2 separate regions of the Homo sapiens genome follow, and region 1 is linked to region 2. Evidence: promoter capture Hi-C in 16 types of primary human blood cells and fetal thymus (Javierre and others, 2016). All regions are on one chromosome and are shown on one strand. Each heading gives the region's core, a stretch centred on a gene start or on the middle of the fragment in contact. The rest is flanking DNA. Distances are from core to core; before and after follow the strand shown.

Region 1 (2,905 bases), core at 134-2,633, 140 kb after region 2:
AACACCTTCTTTGGCAGGTTTTATATACTAAATTATATATTAACTACAATTCTTATTCTTAGTAACCTTAAATTTTAGTGAAAACTAGGAAGCAAGAAATCTTTAACTGTCTATCAAATATTTGCATTTTATAGATGAAAACATTCCACAATTTATAAAAACATGTTTCTCCATATCATAACCCTTTCTTAACTGGAAATGAGCCAGACATCCAAGAAGCATCAAAAATAATTTTAAGATTTTAAATTACACAAAAAGCTCACCTACAAGCATGTATCCCATTTACATGTATTCAATTCTTTCATCTTTTTAAACAATTTATAGGTCAGGCGCAGTGGCTCACGCCTGTAATCCCAGCACTTTGGGAGACCGAGGCAGGCGGATCACGAGGTCAGGAGATCAAGACCATCCTGGCTAACACGGTGAAACCCCGTCCCTACTAAAAATACAAAAAATTAGCCGGGCCTGGTGGCGGGCGCCTGTAGTCCCAGCTACTCGGGAGGCTGAGGCAGGAGAATGGCGCGAACCCGGGAGGCAGAGCTTGCAGTGAGCCGAGATCGCGCCACTGGACTCCAACCTGGGCGACAGAGCGAGACTCCGTCTCAAAAAAAGAAAAAAAAAAATTTATATAAGTGGGTTCTGAAAACTGAGATATTAGACAAAGGTAGTCGTCATTTCAGGTTATTGCTCTGTTGACCATTATTTGTAGCCTATGAATATTAGGTGCTCACCTAAGTAAGCAACTTAAATACATAGGTATTTTTGCCAATAACTTAGAAGATTCAACTGTTTTTATTAAACTAACAACATTTACTTAGTCTTATTTGCCAAAGAAGGCACACAAACAAAGATCATTTTGTTTTGGCTGGGTTTATACTTTTATAACCCTCTGTGCCAAACACTGACACCTCAAAGTATCTAGCAAAGACAATTATAAAACCCAGACGAAAATGTATTCTAACACTGTTAAGACATTCTTATTTTTTTATTACTAATGACTTTAAAGCCAGCTTTTTAAATAAACATTTACTTAAGTCACATAAAATTGAAAATTCCTTAGATTTATTTATTTAGTGTATAAGATGCTCTTTTATTTATAAGCCAATTTGGTAGACACAACATACAACATAATAAATGTACATACACATAAACACATATAAACATGTATACACATACACACACAAAGATCCAATAGCTTTTACCTTGGAACTCTAGCCATGAGATAGCAATACCAAACCACTGGTTTAGGAACATGTTCACATGGCTCAAGTTTGTTTGCCCCAATATGTAATCCAATGAAAGCTTTGAACCAAAATTTGGGTAAAGCAGTTTCCATGGCCGTTTGATTATTAAAGGCTAAATTTCCCCAGGCTCCAAAGACCACTAGGGCCAAACAGCACTATAGAAGAACATCATGTACTAACCAGGTCCAACCCTGCTTAGAACAGCAGCCTAAAAGCTTAGATACATGTAACACCATAACACCGTTCCACTGTCTCACTCAACAGCATGACCCATGGAGAAGCCAAACTTCTCCAGATTCCAAAGAACACTGAAGCCAAACAGTGCTACAAAATATTATCAGTTTATCAAATTCTGATTTCCTGTGACTATATTAACACACACAAATAAACAAGCAATCACTAAAACACTGTCCAATTGCTGCAGCAACCAACGAGTTCCAATATCAATCAGTTGGGCTTGTTCAACCTGCAAATGGAAATTCCTCCAGAATTCCCCAAATTGAGAGGAGAAGATCCCACTGTCTGGTACCCACAAAAGACATTCACCCATCCAGACTCAGATGACACATTTCAAAGGCTGCTCTTCCTAGGCAATCAGAAACACAGCTGGGGCTGGCAGAGGTAGGGCCAGAGAAAGAAAAACCAACACCCACCTGTAGCCAAAAAAGTGTTGGGCAGCTGCTTAGGAGGACTTTTGAGACTCTCCCTGCCCACAGCAGCCAAGTTACTAGCAATACATTCCCAGCCAGGGAACTAAACCTTGTCAAAAACAACTAAAACCTACCAATCTACCGCATCTGGACAACGAGATGCCAGACTCCTCACCCATCATGATTGCTTAAGCAACCACCTGCTTGCTGTTGACCAATTCTTCTTCCTTACCTCTCCCTAATTCCTATTTTGCCACACAGGGTTCTGTTTCTTCCCTGCCCTATAAATCCCTAATTTTAGTCAATCAAGGAAATGGATTTGAGATTGATTTCCTATCTCCTCGGCTGCAGCAGTCAATTAAAGGCAATACTCATTGCCTCGGTAACTGGTTTTTATGTGGCAAGCAGCAGGCCGTAGACCAAACTCCTGGCATTTTAATAACACTAGGTTGCCTTTGCATTCCTATGAAAATCCTAAGAGTATATATTTTTGCCTCCATTTAACCAAAGAAAAGAAGGAAGATCAGGGAACCTTTCCAAAGTCACTCACTTAGCAGCAGATGCAGCACTTTTATTCCTGGTCAGAAATATATGAAAAGTTCAAGAGAGTAATTAATTCAGGCAGCATAGTTAAAAACAGGACAGTGTAAGAGTTTAAAAAGATAAGCACACATATAAGAAAAAAACTACAGGTCAGGTATTCCTAATGTGAAAATCTGAAATGCAAAATGCTCCAGAATTTAAAACATTTTGAGCACTGACACGATGCTGAAAGAAAATGCTCGTTGGAGCATTTCAAGTTTCAGATTTCCAGATTAGGGATGCTCGGCTGGTGGGTGTATGGAAATGTTCTAAAGCCCCCCCAAAAATCTGAAATCTGAAACACCTGTGATTCCAAGCATTTCAGATAAAGAATACTCAACCTGCGAAAGAAAAGAAATCAATTTTAAAGTATAGCCAATCCCAAGAAGGGAGGAGGAGGAAGATGGAAATAAAGAGGAATACTTCAAC
Region 2 (3,051 bases), core at 374-2,873:
ACCAGGATGTTAGAGTCAAAATGAAGTAGCTTACATGAAAGCATCTTATTTTCCGCAAGGTCTGAAACAAAGGAAAAAGCTGTTGTAGCAGGTGTGTGGAACTACCTAAGCAAATAAACCACAACAGAGATGATGAACAATGAACAAACTCAAGTGTGTCATGTCAAACAACTCCTAACATCTTATAGCCATTAAAGTAGCCAACAAGTTGGGAGATGTTGAGTTGTGCAAATATTACATCTGGTTTCTCCTGAATCTCTGAAGCTGATTCTGAAAGTAAAAATGATTAGGGCTCTGGGAGGAGGAATAACCTAGACTATAAAATAATGGGAAGTTCCTGAGATAGGCTCTTCTCTTTCCATTTAGCACTTTCTGGCTATTTTATTTGCAAGAGATTCAAGGTGTGTTCACGTTATTTCCTCTCCTTTCTTCAATAGAGAGAAGACTTAACCTAAGTCTTCCTGCTCCACCCCTATCCCTAGTGATCATCAATCTATTTTGTTTCATAGACAGATACATCATAACCTTGTGACCCAGGTTTTACACTTGGGTCCCTTCACAGTTCCAGAAACATACAGAACAAATGTCATAGAATCATGAAAGAGAATTCAAAGGCTATAGACTCCTTAGATAAAAAAGGGCAGATTTATTAAAGAACCCTGATTTAATCATCCCACAATGTATACATGTATCCAAACATCACATAATACCCCATAAATAGGTATAATTATTAGTTGCTAATAAAAAATAAATTAAAAAGAAAATAATTTTTAATGTAAAAGTAACAGTTCTTTCTTTAACTGTGCATATTTAAATTTTTGCTCAATTTTAAAAAAAGAATCTCAAGGATAAGAACACTTGAGTCAAATGCAGGGAAACTCTGTCCTGATTTAAGGATCCAGGCTCTTCTAGTGTTCAAATATCAAACCAGGATATTTGCCTCTCAACTCCTTAACTGCATAAGCAGCTGACACATAGATTGGAGTTACTATGTGTTAAGTGCTGTTTCAAGTACTTTACTGATACCATCTAAGTTCTTACAACAATCCTATATAATATGTTCTATTATTATTTATGTCTTACAAATGACAAAAATTGTCACACTGAAGTTCATAGCTCTAAGTGGCAAAGGCAAGTTTCAAACTCTAGCATTCTTGTTCCTGAGTTCATGCTCTGAGGCACAGTGTTTTAATGCCTTTACAATAATGCTAATTAAATGGATTGTGATATTAGGAAAAGAAACCAAATTACTAGGATAGAATATACATCCAAGGACCAAATACATACAGTACAAGAAAAATAATTTAAATTTTCTATTCCATATTAAAGGTAATGTTCTTCTTAAACTGAGAGAATTTTTTCACTTTGTCAAATAGTTGGATCCTTTTAACTTTGGGGTATTTATATACTGTAGATAATCATTTCTCTGTTACTTCAGATTAATAATTTTTTGGAAAAATCATTAAAGAGGCATCTATATCTAGATAGACTAAGAGAAAGAGATGTTAACATTATGAATCTGACAATATACTTAAAGTGAAGGCGTTGGGAAAATGTTCGTATTACAAAGATAGTTATCATTTTGTCTCTTTCAAACACATTCACAGAAAGAAGTTCTTCAGATGCGAGGTTTCAACAAAACCACTGTGGTTACACAGTTCATCCTGGTGGGTTTCTCCAGCCTGGGGGAGCTCCAGCTGCTGCTTTTTGTCATCTTTCTTCTCCTATACTTGACAATCCTGGTGGCCAATGTGACCATCATGGCCGTTATTCGCTTCAGCTGGACTCTCCACACTCCCATGTATGGCTTTCTATTCATCCTTTCATTTTCTGAGTCCTGCTACACTTTTGTCATCATCCCTCAGCTGCTGGTCCACCTGCTCTCAGACACCAAGACCATCTCCTTCATGGCCTGTGCCACCCAGCTGTTCTTTTTCCTTGGCTTTGCTTGCACCAACTGCCTCCTCATTGCTGTGATGGGATATGATCGCTATGTAGCAATTTGTCACCCTCTGAGGTACACACTCATCATAAACAAAAGGCTGGGGTTGGAGTTGATTTCTCTCTCAGGAGCCACAGGTTTCTTTATTGCTTTGGTGGCCACCAACCTCATTTGTGACATGCGTTTTTGTGGCCCCAACAGGGTTAACCACTATTTCTGTGACATGGCACCTGTTATCAAGTTAGCCTGCACTGACACCCATGTGAAAGAGCTGGCTTTATTTAGCCTCAGCATCCTGGTAATTATGGTGCCTTTTCTGTTAATTCTCATATCCTATGGCTTCATAGTTAACACCATCCTGAAGATCCCCTCAGCTGAGGGCAAGAAGGCCTTTGTCACCTGTGCCTCACATCTCACTGTGGTCTTTGTCCACTATGGCTGTGCCTCTATCATCTATCTGCGGCCCAAGTCCAAGTCTGCCTCAGACAAGGATCAGTTGGTGGCAGTGACCTACACAGTGGTTACTCCCTTACTTAATCCTCTTGTCTACAGTCTGAGGAACAAAGAGGTAAAAACTGCATTGAAAAGAGTTCTTGGAATGCCTGTGGCAACCAAGATGAGCTAACAAAAAATAATAATAAAATTAACTAGGATAGTCACAGAAGAAATCAAAGGCATAAAATTTTCTGACCTTTAATGCATGTCTCAGACAGTGTTTCCAAGGATTAAGACTACTCTTGCCTTTTTATTTTCTCCTATTCCAAAAAGAAAAAAAATGCAAGTCAATCTACACTCTATATTGTCCGATGTCTAGTTAAAAAAAAAGAATTCACACTTGGCAAAAAGAGAAAAGCATGAGAGTTTTTCAAGGAAAGACACAACCAAAACAAATATAAGGACAAGAATTGCTTTTCCAGTTGGAGAGACAGAACAGAGTCTGAAGTGGCTGGAAGCATTTTTATCCGGGACACAGGCATTCATCTAGTAATACATTCATCTGTGTACCAAGTCCCATTCAAAGAGGAAAAATTAAAATGAACAAATGTATAGTTTATGGTGGTTGGGACTGGTTAGGTGAAAAGATGAACACTGAAAAAAATATGATAATG

Evidence for each region. The method cuts DNA at HindIII sites, captures the fragments that hold promoters and counts their contacts. A CHiCAGO score of 5 or more calls a contact.
Region 1: a contact is called between a fragment that was not itself captured here and the fragment with the promoter of OR10T2 in region 2, in 1 of 17 cell types (fetal thymus). The highest score is 10.5, in fetal thymus.

Annotation. Positions count from the first base shown.
Region 1 is chr1:158,260,705-158,263,609 of GRCh38, reverse strand. No RefSeq gene overlaps it. Among named protein-coding and RNA genes, the nearest start is that of CD1A, 7.7 kb to the right of the region's middle. The HindIII fragment of the contact is 157 bases long and covers 1,305-1,461 here.
Region 2 is chr1:158,398,038-158,401,088 of GRCh38, reverse strand. It overlaps OR10T2 (olfactory receptor family 10 subfamily T member 2), which reads left to right and starts at 1,623. Exons shown (of 1, transcript NM_001004475.1): 1 at 1,623-2,567. The coding sequence starts at 1,623. The coding sequence ends at 2,567. The HindIII fragment of the contact is 4,820 bases long and covers 1-3,051 here.